Regions from separate parts of the Homo sapiens genome. Here region 2 is linked to region 1. The links are contacts of gene promoters, found by promoter capture Hi-C in human tissues and cell types (Jung and others, 2019). All regions are on one chromosome and are shown on one strand. The core of a region is centred on a gene start or on the middle of the fragment in contact, and the rest is flanking DNA. Distances in the headings are between cores, read along the strand shown.

What was found. The method cuts DNA at HindIII sites, captures the fragments that hold promoters and counts their contacts. A contact is called where the count stands out against the background at its distance.
Region 2: a contact is called between a fragment that was not itself captured here and the fragment with the promoter of HUNK in region 1, in 2 of the 25 tissues and cell types used here (lymphoblastoid cells and thymus).

Annotation. Positions count from the first base shown.
Region 1 is chr21:31,870,359-31,877,647 of GRCh38, reverse strand. It overlaps HUNK (hormonally up-regulated Neu-associated kinase), which reads right to left and starts at 4,628. Exons shown (of 11, transcript NM_014586.2): 1 at 3,713-4,628. The coding sequence starts at 3,973. RefSeq lists silencers at 3,355-3,534, 4,461-4,510. The HindIII fragment of the contact is 17,092 bases long and covers 1-7,289 here.
Region 2 is chr21:32,000,598-32,007,886 of GRCh38, reverse strand. It overlaps HUNK (hormonally up-regulated Neu-associated kinase), which reads right to left. Exons shown (of 11, transcript NM_014586.2): 11 at 3,823-7,289. Among named protein-coding and RNA genes, the nearest start is that of LINC00159, 82 kb to the left of the region's middle. The HindIII fragment of the contact is 6,747 bases long and covers 658-7,289 here.

The sequences.
Region 1 (7,289 bases), core at 3,379-5,878:
AAGACACTCAGCCCTGACTGTGAAGGTACCTATTAAGAGTTTCACATGGCCAAGTGAACTATTTATTTTTAAAGCCAGATTAACAGAGATTGCATTAACTCAAAGGAGGACACAATTAGGTCTCAGCCGCAAGCCATCTTTCCTTTACAAGCAGTAAAAGAGCCATCTAGATTCAAATGGCTTCTAAACAAACAACTTCAGAGGAAAAGCAGGCAAAAGATTGTCCTACAGGCAGTGGTGGCAAAAGCAGCCTCTTGATGAGATCAAATTGAAACCTAAAAGGAAAGTTGGGAAAAACTGGCTCCCTTTGTCATCTGGACTCAGACAGTGATTCCCAGCAAACCATGAAGGATTTCACCCAAAGCTTTTTGGAAGTGTAACCAAGTCGAAACACAACACGCTACACACACACACACACCCCCATACCAAATGCCTTCAACTAGCAATGCCCTAGATTTTAGCACAAATCACCCAAAACTAATTCTCACAGTTTGAGAATGCAGCTATGAAGCAGGCCAAACTTGGGGTGCCCTCTCAACTTCTGTTTCCCTATGCCCTCTTTCAGCTTTTTCATGGACTGATTTCCCAAGACAAGCTGCCCTGAATCCTTTCGCTCCACGTGGGCTGGGAGTACTTCTCACTACAGTATTAATGACTTCATTCCCCTCCTAATGTGGAATGGATCCTTTATAAAAGGATGGGCCAGGTGCAGTGGCTCACATCTGTAATTGTAGCACTTTGGGAGGCCAAGGTGGGAGGATCACTTGAGGCCAGGAGTTGGAGACCAGCCTGAGCAACACAGTGAGACCCCTGTCTTTATAAAAAATTTAAAAAATAAATAGATAGGACAGGAGAAAAGTGAAATTCTAAATCCAAAATGTACACACCCCAAGAAAAGAGGAATTAATGAGGGAGAGAGGCCTCCCTGGGTCACCCACAGTGGGGGACACTGGAGGCTTAATGACCTCCTTTTCCTCAGCTCTGCTCACTGGAGGAAACTTTCCCCAGGCCAAAATCATCTTAGTAGCTCACCTTTTAAAAGAACTTCAGGTTGTAAATAGCCTGAGGCTGTGGTCATCTTTGTTTTGGCCTTAGTTAGGCAATACCCAAAACTAGAGTGGGAATGAGGACTCATTTTAATTTAGCAATCTTTCTCAGAGTCAAGCATACACACACAACCATTTTAATCCCCACAATCTGCTAAAACCCAAATCTATTAGTTAAGCATTAAAGGTGCTGGATTTGGGAGATAAATGTTATGAATGACACCATTGTTTCTTTAAAGCCAGCAATTGAGTGAACTAAAATCCAGATTTCTCCCAATGCCCGCAATCCCTGGAGCACTGATTCTCCCCGCTGGGGAGGAGCATCCCGGGAAAACCAAGTTTTTCAACACAGACATCTCTCCCCTGCCTCCTTCTCCACCCAAAGAACCACCATCCTTACCCGCAGTCCACCAATGGGTCCAGGGGAATAATTTTACATCCAATTAACATCTCCTGTCATTGCAACAATGAAGTGAGATTCATCATTTAAGAAACATAAGATGGGAGGGAAGGGGAGTGGGCACCTGGGGAAGCAGCGAGTCTCTTCATGTGAATCCTATTTGGGCAAGAATTCCCTGCATGTCGGGGTTCCCAGTGGGCCCAGCACAGAGCTCCAGAACCCAAGCGCTGGCTGAGCTCTGAATCCACCCCCAGGCAGTTCAGCCAAAGCCAAGAGTTTTATGGTGCAAAAATGCGCTGCTACAGAGCCAGAGGCACAGCACAACACAGCAAGGTGGAGGGAAGCCAGAAAAGAAGTCTGTGCACCAGGGCAGGCGAGAAGAATGTACTTGCAGTGTTTGCCATGACGTTGTGAGCATAAAGACTCGCTTCTTTCCGTTATGTTTAGAGAGGAAATATGCACAACCAGCCTGAATCCTATACGTTTCCAATGAAAATAAACTTCCATCGCCAGTGCCAACAGGAATTTACACAGGGCCAGGAGAAGAGAGCTCACTCTAATTAGCCGCATCCTCGCGCCCTGAACGGACCCGCAGTGTGGAAGTCAGACAGCTCACTACGAATCGAATCGAATCGAATCGAGGAGTGTAAGTGTGCCTCGCTCCTGCGGACTAGAACGAGGTTTGGAGGTTTTTCCTTTTTCTTTGAAGACTTACTCAAGTTCATACTGAACGCTCCTTTTTTGCATGGGAATTCAGGCAGGAGGCACTTCTAAAAACTACTCACTCTATCCCCACATACCCATAATAAAGCGGTGCCTCACTCAAAACGGCTGTAGGGAACACAGGGAAAATGACAAGGGTGACGGAGACCTGCATTCACAGGCAAAAGGCTCCAAGACAAAGAGGGGAAATGGGGTGGGGAGGGAACTACAGGTGGGGTGAGGCTAGAGACAGGCAGGAAGGGCAGGTTGGCCCTGTGACCAGGGGTTTCACAGGGCAGCCCCAGGCTGGGCAGAGGCCCCCAGGTCGGAAGGCAGAGGGCTCGGCTCCCAGGCCACCTGCTCGGTTGGGAAGTGAACTCCGCCTTCCCTCCTTGCGGCTGACGCCTCCCTGACCCACGGACCACACAAAGGAGCTGGTCCCCCTCCAGGTTTGAGCCACCCCCAGCCTGGGGGCAGTCTTGAGCCCGAGATGACAGGAGCTTGGGACAGCTCCAGCCTGGATTGGCTCTGAGCTCGGGCAGCTCCAGCCTGGGGTGACCCGGCCTCAAAAGCGAGTCACCAAGCTCTTGGGTTTCTTCTCACAGCTCTAAGTTACACCTTCCATCTTACCTGCCCCTCGCCTGGCAAGGGTTCACAACCATCTAACTTCCAACAAGGCTGGAGAGGTGCCCCTTTTGGTCTCGCGGAGGTCCCCTTTCCTTTCCCCTCTTCTAGAAAGATAAGAAGGCATCTCCCAGTCTCTGGGGGGAGGTATCTGTAGTTCTGTTCCTGCCAGTAGCAGGGTCTTCACTGCAGCTCCCACCCTGAGGCTGGAGGGCACAGAGGAGCTGGGGGAACGGAGAGAAGGGGATGAGAATGGCGGGGATGAGAATGGTGGGTGATGAGGGGGCAGGGGTGGGAGGGTTGAGTGGATAGAGAGGAGCACAGGTTGAGGGATGGACAAGTGGAGGGCGGAGGCAAAAACCCTCCTCTGAGCACGAAAAATTCCCTAGCTGCCAAAAAACATTCCCTAGCTGCCGGAGCCCACAGGTGGGAAGGAATGCAGGATCTCAGCCTTCTCCCACCTCCTCCGAGAGCCCAGGACGGGGATCAGACTCTAAGCTCCCCCCAGAGGCTGGCTGTTAGCTTTCCTGCCCCCCCCGCCCCCCGACATAAGAGCCCACCTCCTCTAGCCCTGGTTCCCGCCTCGCCACGGATCCGCCGCCCCTGCCGGCCTGAAGGGCAGAGGGGCCCCATCCCGCCCCCCGCGCTAGTGTCGCCAGGCGGCGCCCTTCCACGAGCAGAACGGCCGCGCGGGACGCTTCCCGGGGCAAGGCCGTCCCCTCCCAAGCCCCCAACCCCCGGGCAGCGGACCGCAGGCCGCCTTCGGGAAAGGCTGCGAGATGCTGAGCGCGCGTTTTAACCCAACAGGAAAGCCGGGCGGAGGGGGAAGGCGCTTGGCCCGGGACTGCACACTGGGACTCCCAGTGCAGTGCTCCCCGCGGGGTCCTGGCCGCCGACTCCCGCCCCTGTGCCCCAGCCCCACGGCGCCCGGGAGACTCACCTTCTCCCCGGTCAGCACGTGCAGCCCCTCGCGCACCTTGGCAAAGGAGCCCTCGCCCAGCTTCCTGCTGCCGATGAGGTAGTTGCCCACGCGCTTGTGGTGCTGGAAGTCGCGGAGCCGCTCGCGGGGCACGCCGCTCACCCAGGCAGGCAGGAAACTTCCCTCGCAGGCCGCCGCGGGCCTGGCCGCGTCCTCCGCGCCGCCGCCGCCCCCAGGCGCCGCCGGCTCCCCCAGGAGCCCGTCCCCCGCCGCCGCCGGCATCGCGCTCGCCGCGGCCCGCGCGGCTCCTGCTCGTCTCCCGCGCTCGCAGCTCCTCCTCCCCAGGCTCTTCGGCTTCCCCGGCTTCTCCCGCCGCCGCCCTGGGCCCAGCCCCGCCTGGGTCTCCGCACCCAGAGCCCGGGGCCGCCGCGATCACGCCCCCCGCGCCGCCCAGCGAGGCGCGTAGACAATAGCGGCTGCCCAGGGGACGCGGGACCGGGGACCCCGCCCCCAAAAGTTCTTCCTCTTAGGGTCGCCCGGGCCCCTTTCAGGACACCAGGATCCCGCCCCGGGTCCCGTCCAGGAAGCTAATGACAGTCGCCCTGCTCGGGCGCGCGGGGTGGGGCGCGGTCCGGCGGCGCCTGGGTCCCGGGGTCCGGGTGCCTGGGTCCGGGAGCCCGGGTGCCTCCGCAGCCTCCGCCTCGCCGCCGCCGTCTGGCCCGCACGGGCTTGGGTCGGGCTCCCGCGATCGCTCCTAGCCGTGCGCTGGGCGGCCGCTCCCGCCGGAGAGAAGCGCGCGGCGGGCTGCCGGCGCCCTCTGGAAGGCAGCAGAAGAAAGCCCCATTCAGTTTGAATTTGCAGAAATTTAATCCGCTCGCGGGCGGCGGGAACAGATGCGAGCTCCACTCCGCAGCCCGTGCACTTTCAAATCCCTAGTAGCCCCTCCTTCCCCGCGCGCCACAGTCAAACTCGACCCTCGCTGGAGAGGGGAGGGCCCGGGGAGGGGAGCGGCGGAGTGGACGGAGAAGCCACCTGAGCGCCAGACAGGGAGAACCTGCGCGGCCTCGGAGGCGCGCGCTCCCGGGCCGCCCAGGTCGGGCCGCCTCCGGCTGCGCCTCTTGCCCGGATTCTGGGCTTGGGTTTTCTGGACCTTTCGGCGGTGAAATCCCCCACTGGCCGCACCCACCCGGGGCGGGGGGAAGGGGGAAGGCTCTCGAACTCCGTGGACTGTGAGTCGGGTTGCGTGCCCGGCCCTGAGTCCGCCACACAGTAGGGCCCCCTGGACCGGGGGTGGAAGGATAGATGGATGGCTGGAAGAAAGGGTGGGGAGGCGGCCAGGCGTCTGCCCGGGCTCGCACGCAGCCTGGTTGGCTGTGTTGGAGGAGGCGCAGCCACAGCAGTAATAGTAGCAGCAGCAATGTAGGAACCAGGGCGTTTGCTGCCTCTGCTTGTAGCTTACACCTTCTTTGCCTTCCATTGAAATGATGCCTGTGATTGCAGGAGGTGGACCGGCGCTCGCCTCTCTTCGATGCTTTTGTTCTGCAAGCGCTGTGACTGTGCTCATCGCATAAACAATTGCAACTGCCCTGACGACACTGGACCCTCTCCCAGGATCCCCAACGTCTTCTCAAACCGAAAATGAAGAATCTTGTGAGGGAGAAGGAGGAGGGTAGGTAGGAGGAGGCATTTACAAAATGCTACCTGTTGAGGTGCCCGCATTTGATGGAAACTTCACCCCGATCATGCAACATCAGAGCTGAAAGGAAGGATTTGGTCCTAACAAAGTTCCTTTCATTGTTTATTCCTGAGTAAACAAGTATGACATCGACCCATAGCAATGCTTTGAGATTGGGAGTGGGGGGTGGGGGAACAACAGCTGTCATCAATCCAGTGTCTGGGGGTCTCGCTGACCCATCTGAAGAGGGACGCAGAGAAATGCCTGCTTTCAATACATCTAATTTTAAATACGCTACTATATTCATCCACCTACCTGTTACAAGTCACCAGCCTCAGTTATTATGACGGAACATACTGCGTTTTCTGTTGTTCTGTCTCATTGTTCCCGTTTACCAATATTAAAGATACAGCTTAAAATGTTTTTCTTGCTGTGCTGAAGGGACTTCTTTGCTCCCACCGGCCTTGACTATTTCAGTAACGTTCATTCAATCCTTTTAATGTCTCTAATTCAGTAATCAAATCTTAACAGGACAGTTGCATGGGAGGGGAATGGTAACTAGCGTGGTGCCAGCAGAATAGATGTCCAGCAACTGTCTAAAGAATGAGGAATATGGAGCTCACTTTGGGGTAAAAACCACTCTGAGGCCGGGCGCGGTGGCTCACGCCTGTAATCCTAGCACTTTGGGAGGCCGAGGCAGGTAGATCACGAGGTCAGGAGTTCAAGACCAGCCTGGTCAAGATGGTGAAACCCTGTCTCTACTAGAAATACAAAAATTAGCCGGGCGTGGTGGCGGGCGCCTGTAATCCCAGCTACTCGGGAGGCTGAGGCAGAGAATTGCTTGAATCCAGGAGGCGAAAGTTGCAGTGAGCTGAAATCTTGCCACTGCACTCCAGCCTGGGCGACAGAGCAAGACTCCTTCTCAAAAAAAAAAAAAAAAAAACCACTCTGAATCTTCCATCAGAAACAGTTTGGGAGTCCACCCAATGTTGTGTTAATAGAGTATGATTTTTTTTAATGTTAGGACATGCACTCTTTATGAAAATTTAGAGATTTATTTATTAAGGTTTAAGGGAAATTTCTGAGACTGTTCCCCAAAGTATTTTTATGGTCTAAAAAAAAAAAGTTTCATAAAAATGGTGGATGACATTTACAATGAAATAGAGATTTTCTTTCCTTTTAATTATCCTCTCAGGGTAGAGGTCAGGAAAGGGGTGAAGAAGAGAGAAAATCCAGGCCCATTAAATCTTTTTCAAGCCTGCTGCCTGGGTTTGATTCAAGTTCACTGCTAATTCCATAAGCTGGGATGGATGCCAAAGAGAAGTCCAAATCCTATCCGTGCGTCCCCTTTGTAACTGGTTTTGGAACTACAAGTCCTAGTCTCTGAAATGGCCTGTTTAACAAGAAATCACCCCAGAAATGTCTTTATGTAAAACAAATTAGTACACAATATATTGCCCTCATATTCAGTGTGCAGAAAGCATCTGATTATTCAATGCAACAGTAATGCAGCCTTGAAAATTCTCTGCTAATTAGCCCAAACTAATTTCTAGCCTTATCCTCCTGCGGAGTTCCCGGGTAGGGGGTGGTGCTGGCCGGGATCCGGCCTCCCTACTGCCACACCTTTGCCTGTGCCTTGCCCGCCCCCAGTCTGCTGTCTCCGACTCATTTCCACCTAGCACAGGTGTTCCCTTTCCCATGAAGACCTCCCCAACCAATAAGCTGCAAGAAGCCCATCTCCCTCTGTTGTCTCTTAGTTCATATAGTCATTTCACATTCCTCTTATGTCCTGTAGTACTTATTATCTATGACTTTCTTCTCTTTTAGACTTATTGAGGACAGGAGCTGTGTCTAATTTCATTATTTGCCCTACAGTACCTAGCACGGTGTCTGAGACATGATCATTGTTCAGTAAATATCTGT
Region 2 (7,289 bases), core at 2,782-5,281, 130 kb before region 1:
CTGAGAATCTGAAAATCCAAAATTTCTTCATTCAAACTTCTGGAGATCTAAGCCCAAGGCTGGGTGACCACCATTGTTCCTGTGATTCTCTGAGTTGGCCTAATGCTTTGAACGTGAGAATGGCTCAGATAATTCAAGGGGCTCTGGGTGGTAAGGACTCTGAATGGCTCTTTGAAATTCTCTGACTCAGATGACATGATTCATCTTTCACTGGCGGGGACACTCGTCCATCCCAATGGCCCGCACGTCACCCAGTTGTGAGTAATGGTAATGATCTGTCTACAAGCATCATCCAGCTTCACATCTGCTCCAGATTTAGACTTGTTTCCTGAGACTTTGAGTAAGCTCTGTCTTTTTATAAGCAATTAAGAGCCCATTTTTGAGAGGCTATTCACAAAAGAGAAAAGGGAAACAGCTTGAATGGAAAACAGCTTGGGGACTAGGGCCATGTTCCATTCTGCACAGATGAAGACAGGATTGAATCTAAAGGTGGGGAACAAATAGTAATGACAGACTCGAGACCAGGATGGCTCTCCTGTAGCACTGCCATTCCTGTGGCTGGCAACCAACCCTGGAAATCTACAAAAAGCAACGAAGGAAGGAGTGGCAAAGAAAAGAGCCAGGGTCTCTCCCCACCTCCAAGTTCCCTTAGATTGAATCATTTTGCAAAACTCTTAACAAATTTGTTACCATTAGCCACAGGCCCTTCTGAGAGCCCACTGGCCCAGATGTCACAAAAGGAGCCCTCTCTGTCTTTCAAGTGGTGAGTTCCTAACATGAAAGTTGTGGTGTGTGATTGCAGAAGTCCTGATTGTGTCAACTGGGCATGATGGCTCACGCCTGTATTCCCAGCAATTTGGGAGGCTGAGGCAGGAGGATTGCTTGAGCCCAGGAGTTGGAAACCAGCCTGGGCAATATAGTGAGACCCCATCTCTACAAAAAACTTAAAAAATTAGCCTAGCATGGTGGCATGTGCCTGTAGTCCCAACTACTTGGGAGGCTGAAGTGAGAGGATCACTTGAGCCCAGGAGGTCGAGGCTGCAGTGAGCCATGATTGTACCACTGTACTCCAGCATAAGTAACAGAGTGAGACTCTGTCTCAAAAAACAAACAAAAACTAAAAACAAAAACAATCTATAAAACCCACAAAACTAATCTATAAAATAGAGAAAATATGACACTTCACGGAGTTTTTGTGAAGATTAAATCAGGGGTTAGCAAAATAACTACCTGAGGGCCAAAATCTGCTATGGCCTGTTTTTGTAGGTCCACCAGATAAGAACAGTTTTCATATTTTCAAAGGGTTATAGCAAAAACAAAAACTAAACTAAACTTAAAAACAATGCAGAGTAATACGCAACAGACTAATATGCAACAGTCATCTCCTAAGCCTAAAATATTTATTTTCTGGTCCTTAACAGAAAAAGTTTGCAGACCTCTGGATTAAAGGAAGAAAGAAACTTGAAAATAATTGGCACACTGAGCTTAAAGCACAAGAAACACTTAGAAAAGGTGGAATTTCAGGCTGGGCACAGAGGCTCACGCCTGTAATCCTAGCACTTTGAGAGACCAAGGCAGGCGGATTGCCTGAGCTCAGGAGTTCAAGACCAGCCTAGGCAACATGGTGAAACCCCGTCTCTACTAAAATACAAAAAATTAGCTGGGTGTGGCGGCGGATGCCTGTAGTTCCAGCTACTCAGGAGATTGAAGCAGAATTGCTTGAACCCAGGAGGCAGAGGTTGCAGTGAGCCGAGATCGCGCCACTGCACTCCAGCCTGGGTGACAGAGTGAGACTCTGCTTCGAAAAGGAAAGAAAAGAAAAGGAGAGGAGAGGAGAGGGTGGAATTTCACTCCAAAAAAGAGAAATTTTCTGGGAGTGATTTAGTCAGAAAAGGATAAATGGAAATTTGGCATATGGGGCAAAACATATGAGATTCCTAGAAGATGTAAATTTTACTATCTGACCTTTTCCCCGTGTTAGTCGGCCTGGGCTACTGTAATGAAATACCTCACCGGGATCTAAGCAACAGACATTTATATCCTCCCAGTTCTGGAGGATGGAAGTCTGAGATCAAGGTTTTAGCAGAGCTGGTTCGTCTTGAAGCTTCACTCCTGAGGCTGCCTTCTCTGTGTCCTCACCTGGTCTTTCCTCCGTCTGGTGTCCCATTGTGTATCCATATCTCACATTTTTTTTTGTTTTTGTTTTTTTGTTTTTTTTGAGATGGAGTCTCGCACTGTCGCCCAGGCTGGAGTGCCAGTGGCGCGATCTTGGCTCACTGCAACCTCTGCCTCCCAGCTTCAAGCGATTCTCCTGCCTCAGCCTCCCAAGTAGCTGGGATTACAGGCACCTGCCACCACGCCCAGCTAATTTTTTGTATTTTTAGTAGAGACGGGGTTCCACTATGTTGGCCAGGCTGGTCTCAAACACCTGACCTCATGATCCGCCCACCTCAGCCTCTCAAAGTGCTGGGATTACAGGCATGAGCCACCACGCCCAGCCCAGACCTCACATTTTTATAAGGGCACTTGTCAGATTTGATTAGGTTCCTCCCTAAAGGCTTCATTTTAACTTACTCACCTCTTTAAATGCCCTATCTCTAAGTAGTCACATTCTGAGGTACTGGGGCTGAGGGTTTCAACATATGAATTTGTGGAGGAAAGAATTCAGCCCAAAACACTCTCCTTAAATATTAACATTTACCAATGCTAATTCTTTTATTTTAAAAAAGTAACTCTTTACTAAGAGGTGCTATAATTGTGTGACAATGGGAAAAGGCTAGTCCAGTTTTGGGGTACCTTTAAATGGTAGGCATCTCGGCCAGGCACGGTGGCTCATGCCTGTAATCCTGGAACTTTGGGAGTCCAAGGCGGGCATATCACTTGAGGTCAGGAGTCCAAGACCGGCCTGGCCAACACGGTGAAACCCTCGTCTCTACTAAAAATACAAACATTAGCTGGGCATGGTGGCATGTGCCTATAGTCTCAGCTACTCAGGAGGCTGAGGCACAAGAATCGCTTGAACCCAGGAGGTGGAGGTTGCAGTGAACCGAGATTGCGCCACTGCATTCCAGCCTGGGTGACAGAGGGAGACTCCATCTCAAAACAAAAGCAAAAACAAAAACAAAGAACAAATAAATGGCAGGCAGCTGTACCTTCCCTAAGATGGGAGAAACATTAGCTGCATCCCAAGTAGCCCTATGCTCCTGTATTTCCCAGCCTCTTGCTCACAGACAAGGCAGTGTGACCAGTTCCAGTCAATGGGCTGTGGGAGAAGTGATGAGTCCCCTCATAGAATGTTTAAGGGCTGGTGGAAAACTCTCCAGCCGTGCCTTCCTGTGCTGGAGCAGCCAAAGACGTTTCATTTTGAGGGGACACAGCCACAAGTTGGATGTAGCCTGGATCCCTGAGTCACCATATGGAAGACAGCCGTTTTGTGGTCAGCCCAGCCTCATAAAAATATTTTAAGAAATAAACCTTTATTGGGCAAGTCACAGAGATTTGGAATTAATTTGTGATCATAGCAAAGCCTAATCTTCTAGCATACTGGTTGCCAGAGGAGGTGAGCACTGAACACTGATGAAGGAGTCAGGGGAAGGCATTCTCATCTCAGATCTGCCAAGAACTTCACTGCCCTACTTTCGGCAAGAAGACTTGTTCCCAATATAGGCTTGCAATTTGCCCTTTCCAGCTGGCTATGGTAACAAGACTAGAAAGAACACATTTTTAAAAAAAATTATAGAGTTTAAATGTAAACCAAAGCCTTTGCTTTCAAAATTGCTAATAGCCCATCTTCCAAGTAGGAAATACAAAGAGCTGAGGCCCTGAAGTCAGACCCATTTATTTTTTTCACCTGTAAATGATACAGCTTCCTGTGCCATCTTTAAGTTTTAAACCACTCAACTCCAATTGATCCTCAAGTTTGCTCCACATAAAGCTATTCTATCCTTCCAAAATTGGTTGCCCCAAATGCCTCATTATTGGAACACCACCAGCTCAGATGTGGATACATGTGGAGGGGGACTGCAAATCCTGAAATGCTCCTCACCTTCTCTTCCAAAGCCTCCTCAGCTTTCTCCCCCAACCTCAGTCCCTTAGTGCCCACAGACGTCAACTCCTAGAGATAACTGTGTGTCACAAAAACATGTCCACAGAGAAGAAGTACAAATATATATCCTATTTGTCTTTGCAACCAGATGTCTGGAAAGCTCCCTTAACAGAAAAGCTGCCACAAATAATATACTCATTTACTACTCAGGAAATGCACTCCCTTCATTGAAAAGTGATGACATGAAATTGAACCAACTCCCAGTACCGCTCTGAATTATTCTTACTGTGCCTGTAGCTCACAGAAGACCCCACAAAGAAAATAAATACACTAACCAACAGGCTTCCAGACTCCCCCAAAAGATAGCAGTTTTGCATTCTTTCTGAATTTGCTTCAGTGTATGATATGGCTCTATAGGAAATGTTTTATTGATTTAATCTAGTAAAACCCAATAGCCTCTTAATACCTAAAGTAGATAACAAGGCTATCCAGGGGTTTGCTGCTTACTTGGGAAGTCAACTGAGAAAGACAGAGTTCCCAAAGAAAGCTGTCTTTCCCCAGCTTCAAGAGTGGATGGGACAAACAGCATAAGGTTCAGGAAGCTGCACAGTTTTGAAAAGGACTTAAAAATGCAAGACCTAGTCCCTGCAGGAACTTCAGAAATACCTGTTGTGATGACGGCTTGATCTGTTGTTGACATCCCCCTCTGACCATGGCAGCCACTCTCTGATTTCTCTGTGTTCTTTGAGGGAGAAACTCTGCTCCAGACCAGCTCAAATGCCAGCTCATCTGGGGACTCTGGGGTGTCCTTAAACCATCTGGGTCCCTAGTTTTCCCTTCTTCAGAAAGGCTGGGGCTGAGCCAGAGAATCTTAGGTCCTTTTCTATTCTAAAGTGTTGGGATTCTTACAAGAAAACATTGTCATCAAAACTAGATACTTGTTCTTTTCCCCGGAATCCGACTACTGGGGCTTTGCACAGTGAACAGTGAGCTTCTCCACTTTCTAGCTATGTCACCCTCTAAGGCTTCGTCCCCTCACTTCCCAGGGGAAACAAGGTGGTATATATGAAAAACGTTTTGTGAACAGTTATGAAGGAAGCAGTAACTGGGACAATTTCAAGAGGTCATCTAGATCCCACCCTCCCATTCCATCCCATCATCCCTCTTCCCCTATCCATGACCAAGGCCTCCTACAAGGACAAAATCTAGAAGTCACGTTCATAACTGCCATTCTTTGTGTGCCATTTTCAGAGTCTCCAAGGAAGATCCTAATATCCCCAAATGAAAAAGGTTGATTCTTCTTGAACTGCCACCTGCAGTGTGTATGTCAGAAAGACTTTTGTAGGCACACCTATTGCAGGTAAAATAAGGCAGGGAAACTGGCCCAGAAAATGCCCCCCAATGCAATTCCCGCTTGTTTCCAGTCAGATGCTAGGTCAAGAGCTTTACATAAGGCCAGGCACAGTGGCTCACGCCTGTAATCTCAGCACTTTGGGAGGCCAAGGTGGGCAGATCGTTGGAGCCCAGGAGTTTGAGATCAGCCTGAGCAACATGGCGAAACCCCATTTCTACAAAATACAAAAAAAATTAGCTAGGCATTGTGGTGCACAACTGTAGTCCCAGCTACTTGGGAGGCTGAGATGGGAGGATCACTTGAATCTGGAGAGGTTGAGGCTGCAGTGAACTGTGATTGTGCCACTGCACTCCAGCCTGGGTGACAGAGCAAGACCCTGTCTCAAAAAAAGAAAAAGAACTTCACATAAAAGATGGTACCTGTACTATTATTTGCAACGTACTTAGTTGTTTTAAGATTTATCAGCAAATAAAGAAGCAGTCGTAGTGAGGGAAAAGTGTATTTCACAGTCATTACAAAAGTACATATATCTAATAATGGTGACATAAATATAGTCCTTACTTATGACCAAATCATACAATTAAAATGGACATTTCCTCCTAGACTTCACACAATGACAGTCCAGTCAATTTCTGTCAGTAACTACAGGGTGACTGGAATCACAGGCACAGACTGAGGAAGACAGTCACGGTCGAACAGACAACATGCTTCGGACTTACCAAAGGGAGAGTCGAGCTTTCCATATAAATATAATAAAATAATAAAGAATCTAACATTTCTCCTTTCACTCGGTTTCATAGATTTGTCAGGTGCTCACACACACACACACACACAAATACAGCTGATCCCCTTTCATCACTCCCCCTCACCTCTCACTGGGTTTAGAATAAACCTGAGTTCAGAGTCCAGGTCGCCAATGGCAACGCGGTCAGTTAGCGGCACATGTGCAGCTGTTCTTGAAGCCTGCCAGGAATAAGAAGCACGTTCTCCACAAGCTAACGGCAAGGCGGAAGTACCCCTGCTCTCAAGGAAAATGCATCAGGGGTTCCAGCAAGTTCCCAATGCGCAGGTATACACCCTGCAAGCCTGCAAAGTGGAGCCGTTGCAGCTGGAAACCGTCTTTAGAAAAGGTACACTTCATGTCGAATGGAGAGATGGTCTTAGATGATTATTTTCTTCTCTCTGCTTATAAAGCTCTATTTTCTTTTTTTGGAGACAGGGTCTCACTTTGCCACCTAAGCTGGAGTGCAGTAGCATGATCTTGGCTCACTGCAGCCTCGACCTCCTAGGTTCAAGTGATCCTCCCACCTCAGTCCCCGAAGTAGCTGGGACTACAGGCACGTACCACCACACCCAGCTATTTTTTTTTGTATTTTTCGGTAGAGACGGGCTTTCACCATGTTGCCCAGGCTGCTCTCGAACTCCTGAGCTCAAGCGATCCACCTGCCTCGGCCTCCCAAAGTGCTGGGATTACAGGTGTGAGCCACCACACCTGGCCTAAAAGCTCTGTTTTCAATGGTAAGTTCTGGAACCCAGTCTGAAGCTATACAAAAAATAACACCAATGGCCAAGGGGTCTGACCTCATCCTAGAATGCCCTAGAGCCGTGGTGATCCCCTAGGGAAGAAACAGGCAGCTCCAGGTCTCACCAAGGTCAGCCAAATATCCATTCTGTCCCGCTCTGTCAGAGATGTGAGGGACTGAAGGATGTCACCACTGGTGAATGAGAGAATGATTCAGAACTGCCTCTCTGCCTTCTGGCAAGGCTGCCTGCCAGGGAAATAAAGGCTGGCTTTGCAATTCTAGATTTGTGTTTTGGGATCCTTGGACTGAGATGACTATCTGAGGTGGCCACAGAGGTGGTCTCTGGTCACACCTGCACCGGTCAAAA